5 separate regions of the Homo sapiens genome follow, and all the other regions are linked to region 1. The links are contacts of gene promoters, found by promoter capture Hi-C in blood cells and fetal thymus (Javierre and others, 2016). All regions are on one chromosome and are shown on one strand. The core of a region is centred on a gene start or on the middle of the fragment in contact, and the rest is flanking DNA. Distances in the headings are between cores, read along the strand shown. Region 1 holds the start of ZSCAN2 (zinc finger and SCAN domain containing 2). Region 2 overlaps PDE8A (phosphodiesterase 8A). Region 3 overlaps PDE8A (phosphodiesterase 8A). Region 4 overlaps SLC28A1 (solute carrier family 28 member 1). Region 5 overlaps ALPK3 (alpha kinase 3).

The links. Contacts are between HindIII fragments. The CHiCAGO score rates a contact against its expected background, and 5 or more counts as called.
Region 2: a contact is called between a fragment that was not itself captured here and the fragment with the promoter of ZSCAN2 in region 1, in 1 of 17 cell types (naive CD4 T cells). The highest score is 5.6, in naive CD4 T cells.
Region 3: a contact is called between a fragment that was not itself captured here and the fragment with the promoter of ZSCAN2 in region 1, in 1 of 17 cell types (naive CD8 T cells). The highest score is 5.2, in naive CD8 T cells.
Region 4: a fragment that was not itself captured here is called in contact with the fragment with the promoter of ZSCAN2 in region 1 in 1 of 17 cell types (M0 macrophages); the score reaches 5.7 in M0 macrophages.
Region 5: a contact is called between a fragment that was not itself captured here and the fragment with the promoter of ZSCAN2 in region 1, in 13 of 17 cell types (erythroblasts, M2 macrophages, naive CD4 T cells and 10 more). The highest score is 8.8, in erythroblasts.

What each region holds. Positions count from the first base shown.
Region 1 is chr15:84,598,312-84,602,885 of GRCh38, forward strand. ZSCAN2 (zinc finger and SCAN domain containing 2) reads left to right here and starts at 2,698. Exons shown (of 3, transcript NM_181877.4): 1 at 2,698-2,824. It overlaps LOC105370947 (a long non-coding RNA gene), which reads right to left. Exons shown (of 4, transcript NR_186225.1): 4 at 1,123-1,492. RefSeq lists an enhancer at 2,546-2,595 and a silencer at 2,916-3,065. The HindIII fragment of the contact is 3,007 bases long and covers 312-3,318 here.
Region 2 is chr15:85,011,674-85,016,247 of GRCh38, forward strand. All of the region lies in intron 1 of PDE8A (phosphodiesterase 8A), which reads left to right. Among named protein-coding and RNA genes, the nearest start is that of PDE8A, 32 kb to the left of the region's middle. The HindIII fragment of the contact is 4,702 bases long and covers 1-4,574 here.
Region 3 is chr15:84,990,413-84,994,986 of GRCh38, forward strand. The region is part of intron 1 of PDE8A (phosphodiesterase 8A); the gene reads left to right. Among named protein-coding and RNA genes, the nearest start is that of PDE8A, 11 kb to the left of the region's middle. RefSeq lists a silencer at 2,186-2,480. The HindIII fragment of the contact is 8,126 bases long and covers 1-4,574 here.
Region 4 is chr15:84,889,916-84,894,489 of GRCh38, forward strand. SLC28A1 (solute carrier family 28 member 1) reads left to right here. Exons shown (of 19, transcript NM_004213.5): 5 at 528-619. Among named protein-coding and RNA genes, the nearest start is that of SLC28A1, 7.5 kb to the left of the region's middle. RefSeq lists an enhancer at 1-330. The HindIII fragment of the contact is 2,956 bases long and covers 559-3,514 here.
Region 5 is chr15:84,864,949-84,869,522 of GRCh38, forward strand. ALPK3 (alpha kinase 3) reads left to right here. Exons shown (of 14, transcript NM_020778.5): 13 at 2,369-2,417; 14 at 3,163-4,574. The coding sequence ends at 3,508. Among named protein-coding and RNA genes, the nearest start is that of SLC28A1, 17 kb to the right of the region's middle. The HindIII fragment of the contact is 5,124 bases long and covers 91-4,574 here.

The DNA.
Region 1 (4,574 bases), core at 1,448-3,947:
CACCCTGCTGCATCCAGGGAATGTGCATGTGACTTAGACTCAACCAACCAAATGCTCTTTCCTTGCATGGGAGAATTTGTGTGAGAAAGGCGGAGAAACAGAGATGGCTGTAGTACCACCAGAGGTCATGGGATAGGCAAGCTGAACTTTTTCTGCTCAGAGACTGTTATTGTGGTTTTTGGGGACTTCCTCTTTGTCTCTTGGCTCCTAACTGTTCTCAAGCCTGATTCGTCAGCTCCCTTCTACTCTGTCAGTTCCCTGACAGTCTTTCAGTAAGTCCCTTTTACTTAAGTTAGCCAGATTAGTTCTTAAGCTTTTAACCAAGAATGCTTTCTGGTGGAACAGAGCCTCTCTCACCCTTGTGGTTTGGCCAATGGAGAAAGGACTCTCTTGGGGGAGCAACCTTGAACTTGGCTGTGTTTCCAGGCTTGCTTCGATGTAGCAGGCTGGTCTTAGGGTACTGGCTTGGCTACCAGGGCCCTTCTCAGTAGGATCATTATGCCATGAATTGGTCTTAAATGTGACTTTCTCTCTGTCTCATGTAGGATAGTTGACACTGGCAAGGACCAGCTTCCCAGAATCAGACACAGAGGAGACAGCTTCTTTAGGACTCTCCAGTGACAAGCTAGTGCCAGTTCTGTGGTCAAGGGTTGACATGGGTTAGGAACAGAGGTAAATAAACGCTTGAGCTGCTGGAAAGTTCCATCTGTGCATCCCCAGCCTCCCCTGCATCTTTTCCTTTTTGTGTAAATTTCCATTCCTGGTAAGGATGGACACATGGAGAAACCCATCTTTTTTAATACAATGTCATCCCAAAAAAAATCACTTGGAGGGGTGGTGGCCCAGAATTCTGCATCCAGGGGCTTAGTGCAGACTTCTCAGGCTGGCCTGGAGGTGGTGCTATTTGCATGTGGTCAGTCTGGGATAATAAAGATGCTACCAGGGTATTGGATAAGAATCACTAGCTGAACTTCACTTTGCATCTCTGTAATTGGATTCAAGAGGTTAATTAGTGAAAAACAGGTGAATTTCACATAATCTTTGGAGTGGTGCAGAGGACTTTCTAACACAAAACTCACAGGCTATAAAAAGATAAGATTAACAAATTTGACTGCAAAAAAATTTCAAATTTCTATATTTAATAAACCAGCAGAAAACAAACAGCAAACTGAGAAAGAGTAGCAACTGCTGTGACAAAGGGATAATTTTCTTAATATACAAAGAGCTCTTACAAATAAATCCAATTTAAAAATGGGAAAAGGACCGGGCACGTGGCTCATGCCTGTAATCTCAGCACTTTGGGAGGCCAAGACGGCTGGATCACCTGAGGTCAGGAATTCAAGACCAGCCTGATCAACATGGTGAAATCTCTGTCTCTACTAAAAACACGCAAAATTAGCCAGGTGTGGTGGCGCACGCCGGTAATCCCAGCTACTTGGGAGGCTGAGGCAGGAGAATCACTTGATCCGAGATCGTGTCACTGCACTCCAGCCTGGGCGACAGAGGAGGAAAAAAAAAAGCAGTCATTTCATTGCAGGTGCCTCCAGTAATTGCTCAGTGCAAACATACATAACTATTCTATCACAGACCATTAAGGGTGTCTCTCTCCATTTTTAGATTTTCCGCTTGAGTTTCCAGGTAGTTTCTCACCTGTTTTCAAGCAGGGTTGGGGCAGCCGTTTCTTCAACAGCGCCAGCCGTAAAACACAAAGATGGAGGCCAACCTCCCACACCCGGGCACCCTCCCTTCCCCCATACTGAGATTGACAAGTAAGCAACCCGGTGATCAGTACTAAAATGGAGACGTCAGCCAGGTGCGGTGGCTCACACCTGTAATTCCAGCACTTTGGGAGGCTGAGGAGGAAGGATCGCTTGAGCCCAGGGGTTCGAGGTCAGCCTGGGCAACATATGGAAACCCTGTCTCTATGAAATGTAGATCCTGTCTGTGAGTGTGTGTGTATAAATAAATATATATATATATATACAAATACATACATATATATATTTAAAAAATAAAATGGGGACGTCCAACACGTGTACTAGGGGCGGTGTCTCTGCCTGGGGAGGTGGTGATGACAGGGCAGGCTCCACCCAGGAGAAGCTGGAAGAATGGGAGTTCCGCGGCAGAGGAGGCGGGGCAGGGCGTTCCTCCAAACACAGGAATACCACGTGCGAAAACAAAGGGGTGTGCGAAGACCGGGTGCATGTGTACAGCTGCAAACTGGGGGAAAGGCGCCAGGCTTGGGCGATGAGGATTTGTTCCCCCATGGATTCCCTTCCTGCCCAGGGTCCGCTCTCGCCGGTCGAGGGTGCCTAACAATACTCCTTGCCACAAGGTTCGCAGCCGAAAAGGTCCTTCAAGTCCGGCCATCCAACTTTCACTTTTTATAGACAAATATACAGAGGCCTTAGATAAGTGAAACGGCTTGTCTCGGGTTACAGCTCTAGCCAACACAGGGTTTCTGACGGTCAGTCTGCGGATTTTCCTGCCTCTGGTCCGCAGGCACTGCCCAGGCTGTCAGCCCCAAACCCTACTCCGGGGACCGCGGTCAGGTTCGTCTCCGGGCGGACTACATCTCCCACAATGCCTTGGGCCCAGCCTCCCTCCTGCCGCCCGGCTGGGTGCCGTCTCCACCAACAGAAAGGCAGAATTTCCAGGGCCGTTCTCGGCAGCCAATGAGCGCGGCGGTGGGCGGGCCTCTCCCGTCCATTGTTCTCGGTGCCCCACGGGCTTGAGCCGGGGTGAATCTGGAGGGGCCGGGCCGAGCCCGGGGGCGCTTTCGCACGCGAAGCAACCGCTAGAGCAGGACCTGGTCTCCCGAGAGGTGAGCCGGAGAGGCAGGCCTGGAGCCACGCGGACCCCGGGCAGTAGCCCGAGGTGAGGGAATAGTGGGCCTGGAGCCAGCTGCCGGCAGCTCTGCTGGGGGAGGGGCGTCGGGGTCGCGCTCCGTATCCTGCGGGCCCTGCAGCCCCGATTTACGCGCCGGCTCCGCTCAGCGAACCGTCCCGGACGCGTCTCCCTGGCGGAGAGCTCCTTGCCTCTCCTACCGAGAAGCGCAGGCTTTGGACGGGAAGGGGCATTCGACGACATCCCGCGCAGCGTACACGTTTTACAGATGGGGAAACTGAGGTTCAGAGGGGGCGTGTCGTGCCCCAAGTCAGACCGCAAATTAGCTGACCTGGCACACTTTTCCCAGGCTCCCAAGTAGGAAGAGTTCTCTTACACCATATGCCAGTATTTCTTCTAGTCATTTGAGTAAATACACGTTGAGAGCTTCGGTTTTCCCACTAGCTTTTATTTTTTGTCCTTTTTTTTTTAAGCTTTTGTCAGCTTTTCTCCCCTTTTCATTGAGGGAGGGTTGTTAGTTGAGTCTTTATGATGTAGTAATGATTTTTTAAAAAATTTTTTTATTTTTGTAGAGACTGGGTCTCACTCTGTTGCCCAGGTTGGTCATGAACTCCCGGCCTCAAGCCATCTTCCCTCCTCGGCCTCCCAAAGTGCTGGAATTACAGGCGTGAGCTACAGCGCTTGGGCTAAAAATAATTTTGTATTGCTTTTATAATATTTTAAGTCGTTTGCAATTCCACTGCTTTCAATATTTTGTAGGTGCCGTCCCGTTCTTTTTTCCTGTGAGTTCATTTTTTTTTTTTTTTTTTTTTGAGACGGAGTTTTGCTTTTGTTGCCCAGGCTGGAGTGCAATGGCCTGATCTCCGCTCACCGCATCCTCTGCCTCCCGGGTTCAAGCGATTCTCCTGCCTCAGCCTCCGGAGTAGCTGGGATTACGGGCATGCGCCACCACGCCTGGCTAATTTTGTTTTTAGTAGAGACGAGGTTTCTCCGTGTTGGTCAGGCTGGTCTCGATCTTCCGACCTCAGGTGATCCGCCCGCCTCAACCTGCCAAAGTGCTAGGATTACAGGTCTGAGCCACCGCGCCCGGCTGTGAGTTCATTTTTAAAGGGAATTGAGGACTTACTGTGTCTATGGTTTTTCTGCCCTGCTGATTTTGTGTTTATCCATTATTTTCCTATCAGAAGGATTATCTTAAATCATTAATGATTAATCTTTGTCAATATAATTTTTAAAATATTAAAAACATACAGCGTAATGTGCAGATCTTAAATTTCATATGTTTGCTCTTGTGCCGCCATTGCCAAATGAAGATATTGAAAATTTCCATCATCCCAGAAGGCTCCTTTGAGCCCCTTTCCTGTCATTACCACCTAAAGGTAGCCATTATTATAGCACAGTTTCTTTTCTTTTTTTTCCTTTTCTTTTCTTTTTTTTTTTTTTTTTTTGAGACAGAGTCTGGCTCTTTCGCCCAGACTGGAGTGCAGTGGCACGATCTCGGCTCACTGCAACCTCCTCCTCCCAGGTTCGGGCAATTCTCCTGCCTCAGCCTCCTGAGTAGCTGGGATTACAGGCGCCCGTCACCATGCCTGGCTAATTTTTGTATTTTTGGTAGAGACGGGGTTTCACTATATTGGCCAGGCTGGTCTCGAACTCCTGACCTCAAGTGATCCGCCTGCCGAGGCCTCCCAAAGTGCTGGGATTACAGGCAACCACGCCAAGCCTAT
Region 2 (4,574 bases), core at 985-3,484, 410 kb after region 1:
ACAAAAGCCAAAATTGACACATGGGATCTAATTAAACTAAAGAGCTTCTGCACAGCAAAAGAAACTACCATCAGAGTGAACAGGCAACCTACAAAATGGGAGAAAATTTTCGCAACCTGCTCATCTGACAAAGGGCTAATATCCAGAATCTACAATGAACTCAAACAAATTTACAAGAAAAAAAACAAACAACCCCATCAAAAAGTGGGCGAAGGACATGAACAGACACTTCTCAAATTAAGACATTTATGCAGCCAAAAAACACATGAAAAAATGCTCACCATCACTGGCCATCAGAGAAATGCAAATCAAAACCACAATGAGATACCATCTCACACCAGTTAGAAAGGCAATCATTAAAAAGTCAGGAAACAGCAGGTGCTGGAGAGGATGTGGAGAAATAGGAACACTTTTACACTGTTGGTGGGACTGTAAACTAGTTCAACCATTGTGGAAGTCAGTGTGGTGATTCCTCAGGGATCTAGAACTAGAAATACCATTTGACCCAGCCATCTCATTACTGGGTGTATACCCAAAGGACTATAAATCATGCTGCTATAAAGACACATGCACACGTATGTTTATTGCAGCACTATTCACAATAGCAAAGACTTGGAGCCAACCCAAATATCCAACAATGATAGACTGGATTAAGAAAATGTGGCACATATACACCATGGAATACTATGCAGCCATAAAAAATGATGAGTTCATGTCCTTTGTAGGGACCTGGATGAAATTGGAAATCATCATTCTCAGTAAACTATCACAAGGACAAAAAACCAAACACCGCATGTTCTCACTCATAGGTGGGAATTGAACAATGAGAACACATGGACACAGGAAGGGGAACATCACACTCTGGGGGCTGTTGTGGGTTGGGGGGAGGGGGGAGGGATGGCATTAGGAGATATACCTAATGCTAAATGACGAGTTAATGGGTGCAGCACACCAGCATGGCACATGTATACATATGTAACTAACCTGCACATTGTGCACATGTACCCTAAAACTTAAAGTATAATAATAATAGAATAAAAAAAAAAGAAGAAAATAATGGTTTTAACATACAGTATTGTTAGACTCCGAAAAGTAGATTAGGGCTTTCTTTTTAAGAATTTATTTGGAAATTAATTTTGATGATTTATAAATGATTATATAATACCCAGTTATACAATTTACCCTTGGGAACAAAGAAGGAAATATAATATTATATTGGCTTGTATAATCACCCTCTTACTTTGGAAACAAAAGAGTGGGAGTGGGAGAATTTTGGAGAACCTGATCCACTGTTAACTCTAATAATCGTTTCCTGAAGAACAGCCCCATCCACAGTTAAACAGAAATCTGGGGATATTAAATGGAGCTTTGTACTCTTGTCACTTTTTTCTTTCTTCATCAATTTCTAGTTGCTTAGAATTAAGGGCTACACTAAATGACCCTGCATTTGTTGGTGAGAACAGGGGAAGCAGAGAGATGTTTTGTAAGGGATGGAAGGTAGTATTTACATACAAAATTCACAGATTTGGACCTTAGCAACTTTGATCCTGATGGGCTTGATAGAGAAATTACAAGGTTAAAAGGGCTTTGAGATGTGGTGGAAAGAACAGAGACTTCCTATACCCTGCCTCTACCACTGTGCACTTTTAACAAGTTATTATCTTCTCTGAGCATCACTTTTCTTATCTGCAAAATGGGAATAATGAATTCTATCTTTTAGAGTTTTTGAGATTAACTGAGATAATGTGATAAATGATACTTTTCTTAAGGCAGTGAGGTAGAAAAGCAACAAATTTTTATTAGCTCTTTCTTCCTCTCCTTCAATTTAATCTATTATATGTGTTTGCCAGAATAAAGGAATTGTGTTTAAAGGATTGTCTGTAATTACTCAACTTAGTATTTTGAAATATTTTATTGTGGAGAATTTATAACATGTACAAAAGTAGAATTATGTTGTATTTGTTGCATAACAAATTACCCCAAAGTTTACTGGCTTAAAACAGTAATAAGCATTTATTTCTCACTGTTTCTTTGGTTCAGGAATTTGAGAGAAGCGGGGCTCAATAGTTCTGGCTCATAGTCTCTCTTGAGGTTGCAGTCAGGTGTTGGCTGGGTCTTTGGTCATCCAAAACCTTTAGTGGGCCAGCGGATTCACTTCCAAGGTGCTTCACTCATATGATTGGCCAAGTTAGTGCAGGATGTTTTGGGGTTTGAGGAAAGGCCCAATTCCTCTCCATGTGTGTCAGCTTCACAGGGCTGCTCAGGTACCCGCTGGCTTCCCGCAGAGAAGTGATCCAGGAAGTCAAAGCAGAAGCTACAATGCCCTGTTTGACCTAGCCTAGACTACATATTGTCAGTTCCACTGTATTTTATGCATTACATATACCAGCCTTGATTCAGGGTGGAGATGATACACGATCTTGTGATGATAATCACATCTTTCTTTCTTCCTTTCTTTTTCTTTTTCTTTTTCTTTTTTTTTAAAGTCAGGGTCTTGCTCTGTCCCCCAGGCTACCAGGCTGGAGTGCAGTGGCATGATAATAGCTTAATGCAGCCTCGAACTCCTGGGCTAAAGCTATTCTCCTGCTTCAGCCTCCCGAGGAGTTGGAAGTACAGGTGCGGGCCACTAGTCCTGGCCACAGTCATCACATATTTCATTCATTAGTGGTGATATGGCGGCAAATGGTGATATTCTAATTCTCTCATTACTTTTTCATTTAATACTGAATACCTCTATAAAGAGAAGCTCCTCTCATTAACTATGTGATAAAGTTTGAATAGCATAGGCAGGATAAATGCTTGTTTCTTGTTCTCCATTTATTATACCAGTTTTCAGAATAATGGTTTGACTTCCTAATATCCTCCAAAGGGGACCTGTTAAATGTTATTTGTATTACTATGAAGTTAAGTATTTTAATGTATTTGATATGTTTCAGTCAATTGCTCTTATTACCTATATTGATGTTCATATATTTATACCCCTTTTAGAGAAATGGTGGCATACTGTACATAGTACTCTTGATTTGCTTTTCTCGCTTCACAGCATATCCTTGGGATCACTCCATAGTTGTCTATGGAGGAATTGTTCATTCTTAAAAAAATTGAAATATAATTCATATACTCGCCCTTATAAAGTAGACAATTCATTGGTTTTTTAGTATAATCAAAGTTGTGCAACCATTACCACTAATCCTAGAATGTTTTCATCAAAGAAACCCTGTACCTAATAACAGTCCCTCCCCATTGCCTCCTGCCCCTTTACCCGCTACACCCCCAGCCTCTGGCAACCACTAATCTATTTTCTGTCTCTCTGAATTTACCAATGAACGTTTGATTTAAGTAAAATCATATAATTTCTGGCCTTTGTGTCTGGTTTCTTTCAGTTAGCATAATGTTTTCAAGGTTCATCCATGTTTTATTAATAGTTTGAATCAGTTCCTCCTTCCTTTTTTAGCAGCACAGTGCTCCACCGGCTTGATCTGTCTATACCTTAGCTAACCAGCTCATGTTGGTGAACATTTGAACATTTGAGTTGTTTCCCTACATTATTATATGACCTTGTGCATAAGTCTTTTTTTTTTTGGACAGGGTTGCCCAGGCTAGAGAGCAGTGGTGCAATCACAGCTCACCGGAGCCTCGACCTCCCGGGCTCAGGTGATCCTCCTGCCTCAGCCTCCTGAGTAGCTGGGACCACATCACGCCTGGCTAATTTTTGTAAAGATGGAGTCTCACTATGGTGCCCAGGCAGGTCTCAAAACTACTGGGCTCAAGCAACCCACCTGCCTCAGCCTCCCAAAGTGCTGAGAGTCATCTTTTTTGTTTTTTAATGTGAATTTTGCTAGGTGTTGTTCAATTTCCCTCTATAAGGGTTGTACCATTCTGAATTTTTACCAGCAGTGTATCAGAAAGTATTATTTCTCTACTGCCTTGCCATAGAATATTTTGTGATATCTCACTATGGTTTTTAGTTATCATTTTACTTCTCATATCGTGATTGAGATTGAGCATCTTTTCACATGTTTAAACTCTGCATTCCTTTTTTTGTTAACTATCTGTCCATATCACTCTAGACTCTCTCCAAAGGGTCGTTTGTATTTTCCTTCCATTTTTGGCATCTCTTTCTATATTGCAAATATTCTTTCCATTTCTTTATTTCTCCTTTTGTTTTAAGATGACTTGTCGGCTGGGCGTGGCGGCTCACACTTGTAATCCCAGCACTTTGGGAGGGTGAGGTGGGCAATCACTCGAGGCCAGGAATTGGAGACCAGCCTGGCCAACATGGCAAAACCTCGTCTCTATTAAAAATACAAAAATGTGCTGAGTGTGTTGGTGCACATCCGTAATCCCAGCTACTTGGGAGGCTGAGGCATAACAATCACTTGAACCCGGGAAGTGGAGGTTGCAGTGAGCTGAGGTCGCGCCACTCACTGTACTTCAGCCTGGGTGACCAAGCAAGACTTGGTCTCAAAATAAATAAATAAATAAAATTTAAAAAATGACTTGTCATTGCAAATTTAAATTTTTATGTAATTAATTCTAACAATATTTCCCCTAATATCTTCTGGAGTTTGAGT
Region 3 (4,574 bases), core at 1,455-3,954, 390 kb after region 1:
CACTGTTCTGAATTTTTTCCATTATAAATTATTTTTGCCTATTCTAGATTTCATGTAAATAGAACCTTACAGTCTATTCTTTTTTTATAAGGCTTATTTCACTCAGCATAATGTTTTTGAGATTCTTCTATGCTGCACGAGTCAGTAGTTTGTTCTTTTTTCTAATTAAAGTAGTCTGTTACATGAAGAAACCACAGTTCACTTATCTATTCTTTTGTTATTGGATACTAGGGCTGTTTCTAATTTTTGGCTATTATGACTAAAGCTACTATGAATATTCTAGTACACATTATTTTGTGGACATGTGCTTTCATTCCCCTTGGTTAAATACCAAGAGGTGAAATTGCTGGGTCATAGGATAGGTATATGTGTAGCTTTTTAAGAAACTGCTTGACCTTTTCCCAAAATAGTTATCCAATATTACACTCATGCCAACAATGTATAATAAAAGTTCAGTTGCTCTACATCCTTCCCATCATTTGGTGTTAATCAGTATTTTAATTTTAGCCATTCTGGTGGGTGTGTAGTGGTATCTCATTGTGGTTTTGATTTGTATTTCCTTGATGGCTGATGATTTTGAGTACTTTTTCCGTGTGCTTGTTGTTCATTTACTGTATTGCTGTCTTTTTAAAGTTTTTATTTTAATACTTTTTTATTAAAAGGAAATATAAACATTATGACCTCTGGGTAGGGAAGGACTGATTAAGCAAGTTACACAAGGCATTTACATAAAGGAAATGGTTGATAAATTCAACTACGTTAAAATAAAGAACTTCTCATCAAAAGAGAGTGAAAAGGAAAGCGGCAGACTGGAAGAAGACATTTGCAATGCATAGTACCAATAAAGGATTAGTATTCAGAGAGGTCCTAAAAGTCAATAAGAAAACAACCGCCCAGTTGAAAAATTGGAAAAGGTTGGGACAGGCACAGCACTAAGAGGAAACCAAATAGCTAATAACTATATGAAAAGGTTTTCAACCTCATTGGGGAAATGCAAATTAAACCCACAATGAAATAACATTTTATACTCATCAAATTGGCAGACATTTAAAAGGTTGGCAGTATTTTGAGGAACTGCTCAACATTAAGTAGAGGTGTAAATTAGTTCAACTACTAGGGAAAAACCCATTGTCATTGCCAGGTAGAGTTGAATATGTGACCCTGTGACATAGCAGCTTCTCTTCTAGAAACTCTTATATATCTTTACTGGAAACATGTACGAGAATTTTCAGAGCAGCATTACTTTTAATTCCAAACTTTCCTGTAAAACCCAAATGTCCATTAACAACATAATGGATAAAAAAGTTATGATATGTTCAAAGAAAGGAATACTTCACAGCTGTGAAAAATGGATTATAGTTTTAGATATTAACTTTGATAAATCTCAGTGGAGAGAAAGAAGAAGCCATCAAAAAATCTGTAAGTTATGATTCTTTTTATTTAAAGATTGATAGGCTGGGAGTGGTGGCTCACACCTGTAATCCCAGCACTTTGGGAGGCCGAGGCAGGAGGATTACTTGAGGCCAGGAGTTTGAGATCAGCCTGGACAACATAGCAAGACCCCATCTCTAACAACAAAAAAAAGATTAATAGCTAAACAATATATAGTAATACACACATAGGTGTTAAAACTTACCATAAAATCAGTTCAGGCAAATAAAGTTTATTTTAAGGACTTAAATGTTTAGCATGTTAATTTGAGTGCCTAATATAGAGGCTGTAGGAGGATAACAGGCCCTGCTCTCAGGGAACAATTAGTCCTTTCTGGAAAGGTGGGGTAGGTCTCTGACCTGGAAGTGATGATGGCACCTTGGGGGATGGATTGTGGAGGCAAGAGCTTGGTCTGGATTGGTCATAAGGTATAGAAAGAGGAAAGGAGGGAGAGGTTTGACCTGGGCTTAAAAGACTGGGAGGATGTGGATAAGTGGAAAATATATCTCTGGATAAGGGGAAGGAAGGGTACGGGGGTTGGGTGCATGTTCCAATTATGAGGAGGCTGACCAGAGATAGGACGGGAGGTCTAAAAGCCAGGTTGAGGAGTTTGAAGTCCATCCTATAAACCTCAGAGAACTCCCAAAGGCATTTCATTTTCAGCGGGGTAGTCAAAGGATAAACATGTTTCATGAAGATTAGGTTTCAGGCAAAAATTGCAGTAGGTGGGGTGAGGGACAGCTAGAGGTGGGGCACTATGCAGGACCTATTGCAGTGGTTCAGGCACAAGGTATGACCAGGTATGACTAACTTAGTGCAGTAGTTTGGGAGAGGAGGGAATGAGAGAAGGAAAAACTGACTAGTGACAAATTGGACTTGGTGAGTGAAAGGGCGGAGAGTGGAGGGTGACTCAGAGGTTGGGGTTTACCAGCTTAGAAGGACTGTGATAACATGCCACAATTTGTACAGTGCTTTATGGTTTACCAAATGCTATTTTTGTACCTCATCTCATTTGATGTTCCCCAAACCATGGGGAGGTGGAAAGGAGGGATTTTATTTTCCCTGTTTAAGGCCTAAAGAAGCAGAAATTCAGAGATTGAATGACTTGTTCAAGTTTGTGGTGACCACTTACAGAAACAGGTTCACTGTAATAGCATAAGGGAGAAGTCACAGGAAAGCGAATTTAGGGAGTTTTTAAAAAACCTTTCTTGTCTTTTGGTTCTGAGTTCATCTTATAAAAATAAACTTTTACTTTTCCTGATTGTAAAAGTCATATTCATTGTAGAAAACTTGAAACATATAGAAAAGAACAAGGATCGGCTGGGCGTGGTGGCTCATGCCTGTAATCCCAGCACTTTGGGAGGCCAAGGCGGGCGGATCACAAGGTCAGGAGATCAAGACCATCCTGGCTAACACGGTGAAACCCCGTCTCTTCTAAAAATACAAAAAATTAGCCGGGTGTGGTGGCAGGTGCCTGTAGTCCCAGCTACTTGGGAGGCTGAGGCAGGAGAATGGCATGAACCCAGGAGGCAGAGTTTGTAGTGAGCCGAAATCGCGCCACTGCAGTCCAGCCTGGGCGACAGAGCGAGACTCCATCTCAAAAAAAAAAAAAAAAAAAAAAAGAACAAGGATCACTTAAATTGTACAATCACTTAAATTGCACAGTCAGGAGATAATGTCTCTTAAAATGGTGGTGTGTTTCCTTCCATCCATGTAGATTGCTTTAAATAACTATAATTAAAAACTTTTTTGGGCTGGGCGTAGTGGCTCATGCCTGTAAATCCCAGCACTTTTGGGAGGACAAGATGGGAGAATCACGTGAGGCCAGGAGTTTGAGAACAGCTTGGGAAACATAGTAAGACCCCCATTCTCTATAAAAAAAAATAATAATAAATAAATTAGCTGGGCATGGTGGTGCACACCTGTAATCCCAGCTACTTAGACTGAGGTGGGAGGATTGCTTGAGGCTGGGAGTTTGAGGTTGCAGTGAGCTATGATTGTGCCACTGCACTCCAACCTGGGTGACAGAGTGAGACCCTGTCTCTTAAAAAGCAAAAAACAAAAATATTTTTTAAGCAGTTTTGTTTTTTAGTTCTAGGAAACATTTAACTATTATTTATTTAAATGTTGTCCCCTTAAGTTTTCTCATTTTCTCTTCTGCAGCTCCCTCCAAAAGATAGATTGAGACGCATCTTGATCTGTCCTCCGTGTCTCTTCACTTTTCTTTTACTTCCCCTCTCTGTGCTATCTTCTGGGAGGATTTTTTAGCTCAATATTTTAAGTCACGAATTCATTCCTCAAGGTCTACTCAGCTCTTTAGCCCACTGAGTTTTTAAATTTGAGTTTTTGTCTTCAGTCTATGGTTTGCTCTTTTTTCTTAATTGCTTATTCATGTTTTATGGTTGCAGCATACTTCCTTATCTCTTTGAGGATATTAATTACACTCACTTTAAAGTCCTATTCTGATTGCTGTATTAAAAACACTTTTTATTGAGTTATAAATGTAATCAGCCAAGGTGTACAAAATCCCTAAGTGTACAGCTTGATGAATTTTCCTCATGCTCCCATGTAATCACCAGCCAAATCAAGACAGAACATTTCCAGCATTCCAGAAGGCTGCCTTGTGGCTGTTTACTGTTTTTTAGTATTTTTAACATTTTATGAAAAATCTCAAAATACAGCAATCTTGAAGGATTTTTCACAGGGTACCCCTGTGTACCCAATGCCTGTATTTTACATTAGCATTTTACTGTACTTGCTTTATCACATATATCCATGTATCCATTCTTCTACCTATCATACTCCTTTTTCTTTGATATATTTTAAAGTAATTGCAAGTGAGGACGGGAGCGGTGGCTCACGCCTGTAATCCCAGCACTTTGGGAGGCTGAGGCAGGTGGATCACCTGAGGTCAGGAGTTCAAGACCTGACCAACATGGTGAAACCCTGTCTCTACTAAAAATACAAAAAATTAGCTGGGCATGGTGGCAGGTGCCTATAATCCTAGCTACTAGAGGCTGAGGCAGGAGAATCGCTTGAACCCAGGAGGCAGAGGCTGCAGTGAGCTGAGATCACACCATTGCACTCCAGCCTGGGCAACAAGGGCGAAACTCTGTCTCAAAAAAAAAAAAGAGAGAAAAAGC
Region 4 (4,574 bases), core at 787-3,286, 290 kb after region 1:
ACGAACCCTTCCTGGGCTCAAGAGATTCTCCTGCCTCAGCTTCTTGAGCAGCTGGGATTACAGGCGCACGCCACCATGCCTGGCTAATTTTTGTGTTTTTGGTAGAGAAGGGGTTTGTCATGTTGCCCAGGCTAGTCTTGAACTCCTGGGCTCAAGTGATCCACGCTCCTGGGCCTCCCAAAGTGCTGGGATTACTGGTGTGAGCCACCGCGCCCCCCCACCGGCCACATTTCTGTATGTTGATGAGGTTCTGCCTTTTCAGTGAACTTCCTCCTGAGCCCTGGAGGCAGGGACTATCACTGGGGTAGTGGGGCCTGTGGGTGCTGCCACAGAGGCAGGAAGGCCTGAACCATTTCTACATTTGCCCTGGGCTGGGGTTGCCCTGCAGCCCTGTGGGGATGTCAAGGCAAGCCCTGGCTTGCCCCTGTTGCCACTTTACTGGGGACATACCTGAGTGGAGGTGCTGAGGATCTCCCCCAGATGGGGTCTGCTCATGCACTCATGGACCCTGCTGGTCTTGTTCCCAGGAGGAACCTGCAGCCAGCCCTGAGAGCCAGAAGCTTCTGCAGGGAGCACATGCAGCTGTTTCGATGGATCGGCACAGGCCTGCTCTGCACTGGTGAGCCTGGGGCCCAGCACTACCCAGGACACAATGACTCCTGCCTCAGCTATCCATGTCTCAGGGCAGGGTCATTCACTCACCCAGTCATTCAACAAATGGTTGTTGAGCACCAACTCAGGTCCAGCTCCCTTGCTGGGTACTGAGGCATCTGTTAAGCCAGGCCAGATCTTGTTCCCAAGGCACTCCCTCATCAGTAAGGGAGGCGGAAGAAATAGTCCCACATAATGCAGCATGTCATCTGGGAACACCAAGGAGGAATGGGGGATGATCAGGGAGGACTTCCAGGAGGAGGTGACATTGGAGTCTCACAGGCTAAGTAGGAGTTAGCCAGGTGGAGGTGATAGATACTAAGGAGGGCAAAGGCACTCCACACAGAGGAGTCACAGGAGCAAAGGTGAAAACTGGCAGGGTGTGGGTTTCGATAAAGTTCGACGTCTGCACTGTAAGGTCTGGAGGGTAAAGTTCTAGACAAGGAGTGTCAGGGGATGGGGCTGGAGAGATAGGAAAGGGCCCAGGATGGGGAGTGGGTAGGGATATGGGAGGATGCTCAAGGACTTGGATTTTACCCTCAAGGCCAGAGAGAGCCACTGAAGGTTTTGAACAGGGAAGCGTCAAGGTGGAATTCACACGGTGGGACCCTGGAAGGAGGGCAGGAAAGAGGGGGAGATGGAGACATTGAGGACTGCAATGCCTGTGTGAGAATGAAGCTGTGGAAGGTGGGCGGGGGCAATGGGAGAGGTCCTTGGGAAGCAATGCTAGCTGTACTTGGCAATGACTGGGTGTGCAGCATGAAGGAAACCCTGAATTAGGGCTGCCCCAGGGGCCTGCTCGGGTGATAGGAGGATGATGGTGTCTTCCACAGAGCTAGAGAACATGCGTGCAGAGGGAGTCTTGGCAGGAAGGGGGATAATTAGGATAGTTTGTTGGAGGTACCACTGCCAGGCCATCTGAGGGAGAGAGGAGGCTCCCCAGGCACACTTGGAGAATGAATTGAGAAGTGGGTCAAGGACAGAAGCCTGGAGACCAGCCACACAGAAGGGGTTGGCGGCAGCCAAAGGAGCAAGGGTTTCAAGGAGGGAAAGATCAGCAGCATCTCTGCAAGACCCGCAGGACAAAAACTGAGCCATGTCCACCGATTTAGGGACAAGGAGGCCACTGGTGACTTAGGGTGTAGGTGCAAAAACTGAATTGGAGCGGATGGCAGATGAGGCTGTGCAGACAGCAAGTGTAAATGGCTTTTTGGATCAATTTTTATGAGATCAGGCGGGGAGGCTGAATGGGCAGGGTGTGACCCAGTGTCAAGGATGGGCATGAGTTTGGGGTGGGAGACACTTTGTTTGTACGAGCTGAGGTGGGGAGTTTGTAGAAGGAATATGAAGGAATGGGAGATGAAGAGATGTCCGATGGAGCAAGGTCCCCTGGCACGGAGTAGAAAAGCTCCCCACCCCACCGGGAGGGGTGGGTCTTTGCAGGAGCAAGCTCACCTCATTCTGACAGGTTGGAATTAAAGAGGGGCCAGGCATGGCAGGTGGTTCATGCCTGTAATCCCAGCACTTTGGGAGGATGTAGTGGGAGGCTGTAGTGGGAGGATTGTTTGAGCCCAGGAGTTTGAGACCAGCCTGGGCCACACAGCAAGACCCCACCTCTACAAAAAATTTTAAAAATAAAAATAAATTTTAAAAAAAGAAAAAGGAGGATGGGTACAGATGCAGAGTCATTATAGGTGCTCTGGAGGGGAGGGGCAGTGAGAGAGGCGACAGCAATGACCTGGTCTGCTTGGTGAACTTGAAAGTAGGGTCATCTGCTGAGATGGGGTGGGTCCATGTCCCTCACAGCTTCCTTCTAGAGATGGTGATGTCCACCTTTGGCAGGGTCTGAAGCCAGGGCCATCTCTGTTTCCTTGGCTGCCTCCTTCACTCAGATCTGATTTGTTTCTCTTGAAGAACAATTGAATTCTCTCCAGTAGAGAATGAAAATTACCCCACTCATCCTATTTCCATGTTTGCCATGGCTGTCAGGAATGCAATCTGAATCATTGAATGATCCCTTGCAATGGTCAGCAGTGACTTTCTCTGTTTCTGGGTGACTTTGATTTCTCTGGCTTTTCAATATCTTTATTACATCACCTCTTTCCTGGGGAGGCTGTTCACAGACGTTCTGGGAATAGCTGTGATAGAGAAATGAGGCTCATATTCTCAGGACTTGGCTCCTGAGCTGCGACAGTGGCTTGCTTGCCTTAGGTAGGCCTTCTCCATGGGTGCAGCGACAGCGCTGGCACCATCAGACTAACAAGGATGGCCTTGGTGTCCCCAGTCTTAGAAGAAGGAGGTGCCTCTTGCCCGCTCTCCCAGCCAAAGCCCAGGGAGGTCTTCAAGGAGCTTAGCTCAGGTCCTGCCCGTCCCCAAACCAATCCCTGTGAATGGATCCTAGATGAATAAAATACTTCCAAAAGCACTTCTGTCCTTGTGCCCCTCCTGGAGGACCCCTCCACACTGCCCCCTCTCCCTGAGTCCCCATCCTGGCCTGCCCAGACCCCCCCAGCCTTCCTGGCCCGCCCCGACCACAAAGCACAGGCCCTGAGGCGCACAGACCTTCTTGGCCTCCTAGCCCCATGCCCTCCCTGTGTGAGGCACTCATCTCGGCTGGCCTCAGAGGCCTCCCTCTCCAAGTGGGCATCACTGTAGACCCCACCTTGTAGGGGTCTTGTGAGGATTCATTGTGAAAATGCATCTGAAGTGCCAAGCTCACCTCCTGGCGACCACGGAGCCTCTCCCTGGCCAGGTCCCCCTCCCCTGAACCCCCATGGCCGGTGCCAGCAGCCCCAGCACCGCTCTGTGGGGCTCCACCCGTGTGTCTCAATGACACCCGTTCAGGTAGGAACTCCAGCCCACAAGCTTCCATGTGAGAGAAAGGTCATTTTATTTTTTATAACTCAACTTATCTTCTCCCTCAATGTTATCATTCCAGTGAGTGACGGGAACTCAATTTCTGTCCATTTGGAACCTCCCTTCATCCCTTCCTCTGGGGGTCACCGGGGGGGCTTATCTATCATTACTCCTCAAGTGTCTCCTGACCTGTCCACTTCTCCAGCTGGTCCTGGGTCCTCTATCCTTGCAGGTGGCCATGGCGACCCCCTCTTCTCCATGGTGGGCTCATTCTGGTCTCCCGCCTCTCTTCTCTTCAGGCCTCTCGTGGAGACTAGTTCCGCTGTTTTGGTGCCTGCAGAGCCTCACTGGCTTTCTAGGGCCCTGCTTGCCACGCACCACACGGGCATTCCTCTCTCTGCAGTCCTGGGACCTCCCTGGGACTCGACCAGGAAGCCAGTCACAGGGCTTCACTGCTTGCAATGCTGCAAACACACCTGGCTTGGCGGCCTTGCCAGGCTCAGGCGCTTTCTCTGTGATACCAGTGTCCTTGTTATTGCCTGTACCAGAGGGGTTGGGTAGAACTTACCTTTATTCGTGATGTTTCAGATCACATTTTTTATCCATGGCTATGAGTCCTTTCCATTCTTCGAAGATCCTGGATTCTGAAATTCAAAAGCCAGGGAGAGGCCGGGCGCGGTGGCTTACGCTTGTAATCGCAGCACTTTGGGAGGCTGAGGTGGGCGGATCACTTGAGCCCAGGAGTTCAACACCAGCCTGAGCAATATGGCGAAACCCTGTCTCTACCAAAAATACAAAAATTAGCCAGCCATGGCGGTGGGCAACTGTAATCCCAGCTACTCGGGAGGCTGAGGCAGAAGGGTTGCTTGGACCCAGGAGGCAGAGTTTGCAGTCAGCCGAGATCATGCCACTGTACTCCAGCCTGGGCAACAAAGTGAGACCCTATCTCCAAAAAAAAAAAAAAAAATCTAGGGAGAGACATCTCCCCCTCTGCTATCCATTCTTATGTGTCTTTCCTGATGGACTGGCTGAGTGGCTCAAAGAAGAGAAGGGCAAAAGGGGAAAGG
Region 5 (4,574 bases), core at 1,403-3,902, 270 kb after region 1:
GGGGTCTAATTCAAAACCCACAACCACCCTTTTCAAAAACCTCCCTTCTTCCCTTCCCTGCAGCTTTGCTCTAGACTTTCTCACTCTCCAAGCTTCCCAAACTCTCCCTTCCATTTTAGCCCAGTAGCTTTACTGTCTCTCCTCCTCCTCCATCTTTGTTAGCTTTTCGTTATGTAAAGCAACTTAGTCTAGCTTCTTTTTAGTTTTATTCCTACGCCCCCCATTACCCAGAACTCCCCAACAAAGGAAGGCCAGCAGGCATGAACCCTCCTTCCTTCTTCAACCAGCTCTCTGCAGGCCTACTGTCATTAAGCAGAACTGGACAGAGGAGAGGAACAGAGAAAATGCTCAGGGGAAGGAGAGGTTGCTGGGAATATCACACATCATTAAATCTTGTCTCTGTGGTAAATAAGTGAGAAAACTAGAGACCAGAGATATAAAACGGACTCAAATGTGTGTTTCACTGGGGTTAAATTGTACGATAATTATTATATATATAGCTCCATATACTGGGGGGAGGGCGGGCTAGGTAACATTAAGCCATTATCAGTCAACCTATTTGTTAACTTATAAACTCATGCTTCCATCCTTTTTCCATCCAACCATTACTAAATATTGAAAAAATAAAAAGTTGAATTAGGAATGTCATCGTCCTCAAGAAGCTGTGATGAGTAGACCAGTTTCTACTGTGAGACGATAACGTGGCATAGTAGAAAGGCTTTAAAGTCGGCTGGGCGCGGAGGCTCACGCCTGTAATCCCAGCACTTTGGGAGGCCGAGGCAGGTGGACCACTTGAGGCCAGGAGTTCGAAACCAGCCTGGCCAACACAGCAAAACCCCATCTCTGCTAAAAATACAAAAATTCTGTCTGTAATTCCAGCTATTTGGGAGGGCAGGGCTTGAGAATTGCTTGAACCCGGGAGGCAGAGGTTGCAGTGAGCCAAGATTGCACTACTGCACTCCAGCCTGGGCAACAGAGTGAGACTCCATCTCAAAAAAATAATAAAGAAAAAAATAAATTTGATTTAAGTCAAAGCCCCATTCTCTTCTAGCTGAGTCTGTTTTACAAAGAAGAAAACTGAAGCTCACCCTGGTTAGGTCATTCAATCTCTCTGAGCTTCAGTTTCCTTTCCCTTTCTAGGAATAATGTCTTTCCTACCTAGCACTCAGATTTTTCATGAGGATTAAGTGAGACCATATTTGTGAAAACCTGCTGCAAACTAAAATTCTGTGCAAATGAGAGAGATCATCATTTTTACACAAAATGGAATGCTATGAATGCCAAAAGAGAAATGACAAATAAATCAATATTTATCACATTAGTCCTATGTTTCAGACACTAAGTTAGAGTCCTACACATATTATGATTTTCTCAATACTCTGTAAGATGGTCATTACTATCCTCACCTTTACACTTGAAGATTAGAGATATGAAGTGACTTGTCGAGTACCCACAGCTCAGAAGTGGTAGAGCTGAAATGTAAATCCAGGTCTGTCTGACTCCAGAGGCCACATTTGTTATTGTCTATCATATGATGGTACTCAGCCCTGTTAGTGAAAGGCAGGTTCCTAGCAAAATGCTCTGGACAGATTGAAAATGGGGGAAAGAGCATCCTAAACCTAATGTGTGAATACTAAGATACCTGGGTGGCCTGAGCACAGTGAAAACGTTTTTTCTCTATCATCATTTTGCCTGGCTCTGCCCTTCCAAGGCTTAACCTGGAAGACCATCTTGGCTTCTTGCTTGCTTGCTGCCTTTGTAAGTAGTGCAGAAGCCAGTCTTCTGTAGTGTTGCATTTCTGCTGGTCTACCCCTGATTTATCCTCTCATTCCCATCCCTCTCTTTTGTCTGGACAGACTACTGATCTGTTCAGAGGATGAAGGTTTTAGCTCAAAGCTAGAGGCTGGTCCAGGTTGTGACCTGGTCTGATCCAGTAGAGGCAGGATTGCATAGCTGGAAGAGTTTTGGCTCTAGGAATCCAAAAAAACGGAACCCTTATTTTAAGTCAAATGGCCATTGCACATGGCCAGAGCTCAATTATTGAATGAGTGAGTATGACTTTGCTCAAGCCATTTAACTCTGAGCCTATCCTCCTCACTTGTAAAAATATGAATATTATTCCTAGTAATAATCCAGAGACCTGCATGCTGTGAGACAGGCTGGTGGTGATGACCCATGAGAAGATGCTTGAAGACACACCTGCACTGACACCCAGGAAGTTGATGCCAGCCTGGGCTGGTTCTAAGCCCCCATGTCTCCAGCAGGAAGAGACATGGTTCTAAGCCACCCAGTATATCTTCCTGCTGGAGATGTGGGGGCTTAGAGCCAGCCCAGACTGGCATCAACTCCCAACTTTCTCTCTTTTCAGGGGTTGACTGGAAGATGACTGATGTGCAGATTGCTACCAAACTCCGAGGGTGAGTGGTTCTTGGGGACAGAATGCCCTCTGGGCGTCTTCTCAGGGTGTAAAATGTCCTAAGCCCTTCTGGTTCTCCATCCCTGAGGTGCTGGGCCTGGGGCCAAGTGGTCCCAGACACACCCATGGCCATGTGGTAACATCCTAGGGGCTACTGGTCCCCACCCCTTATCTCTGGCCTGGTGTGGCAGCTATTACTGATGCCACACATGGGGTCCCCTGCAATCCAGAGCTCTCACATACTCCTCCCCTCTCGCTTGAGGATGGTTGCCAAGGTGCCGATGAGTAAGGGTCCTGTGATGAGAGTGCGGACCTCGAGTCTGCTCCAATTTATGTTCAGAAGCTAAGCCATTCTTATGCCATTTAAAGTCCTGCGTGATGGATTCCATGTGTCAGGGTGTAATGAGACCACAGTTTTAAAACTGAGGCCTTGGGCCAGGCATGGTGGCTCACGCCTCTAACCCTAGCACTTTGGGAGGCTGGGGAGGGAGGATTTCTTGAGCCCAGGAGTTTGAGACCAGCCTGGGCCAAGTAGAGAGACTCTGTCTCTATTTTTTTAAAAAGAAAAACTGAGGTTTTGGCTGCTGCCACCTGAGGTAGCACCAAGGGAGAGTCCCCATCACCCTCAGATAAGGTAGGATGTACCCTGAGCACGACATCCTGATGATGGCCACCCCAGAGTCCGCCCCCCAAGGAACTGTGTCTCTGGTTGGGACCCCCACTCAGCTCTTCCTGTCTGGCTGCAGATACCAGGGCCTCAAGGAAAGCTGCTTCCCTGCCCTGCTGGACCGGTTCGCCTCCTCCCACCAGTGCAATGCCTACTGTGAGCTGCTGGGGCTGACACCTCTCAAGGGCCCGGAGGCGGCCCACCCCCAAGCCAAAGCCAAAGGCTCTAAGAGTCCATCTGCTGGCAGGAAAGGCTCCCAGCTGAGTCCTCAGCCCCAGAAGAAAGGCCTCCCTAGTCCTCAGGGCACCCGGAAGAGTGCTCCAAGTTCCAAGGCCACCCCTCAGGCCTCAGAGCCAGTCACCACTCAGTTGTTGGGACAGCCTCCCACCCAAGAGGAGGGCTCCAAGGCCCAGGGCATGCGGTAGCCTCCGCAGAGGCTGGGGGCCTCCACCCAGCAGCAGACCAACCAGGAAGCAGCTTGAACTGGATGGAGACTTTCCAAATATGGAACTAACTGGAGAAGGTGCACGAAGGAGACACCACTTGGGGACCTCTCTGAGCAGGCTCTCGTGAATCAGCTCGTCATCAGATGGCTTTGGTGCATGGCACATAGCCCACTGGCCTCTTCTGGTGCCACTGTCACCCAGGGCTCCCGGGCCTCAAGCAGTCCCCACCTCCAAGTGCCTGGCAACCTAGGCCCTCCTTGAAGTTTACACTTTGCCACTGCTGGAGGCTCCCCTGAGTCCTCTGCATGAGTTCTGCACCCCAAGCCCTTGCCCCAGCCCAGTCCAGCAGCAGATGTTACAATCTGAGTGAGGACATGCAGGCCAACTTTTACCCTCCTGCATTTGCCTGGCCCTGATCTCGCCTGTCCTCAGGGATCCAGACTTCCTCTGCTGGTCTGGCCTGGTGACTCTCAGGGTATCTTCTCCTTCCAGCTACTTTCGCTCACTGATCTCAGCTTATCCTGCAACTAACCATCCTTGAGCCCAGATGGGGCTCAGGGCCCTTCCAGAGCCTGTCATGTCCTTGTGCAGTGGCCTTTGATGTGTGTTCACGCTCTTCCCCCTTCACTCACTCGCCTGCTTCCCATGCTCCCTTGTACCCCCTCGCCACATCCCTGTCTTGGGGCCCAGCTGCAGCCTGCTGCCTGCCCTTCATGGCTCTGCACATGGCCCTTTGCTTGAGGGCTCCCCACTCCCTGCCCACCAATACCCAGGTGAGGAACAGACCCTCTGGCCTCTCACCCCACTTCAGTGCTCTCTTCCCCAACTTCTCTCGGGCTCTTTGCTCATGAGGTGAGAGCTGGTGTGAGGGTTGTGTCAGCAGCTGTAGCCAGAGAGAGGTGTTGACTCTGAGAGACCTTGCACTCCATACTGAAAGGAGGTGGGGTCACAGTGAATTTCACATCCCCTCTCAACCAGGAGTGGAGGGCTAGGTCCCTTCCCCATGGGGAGTACACTTGGGTGTTCTAGGAGGGATGCAGTCTAT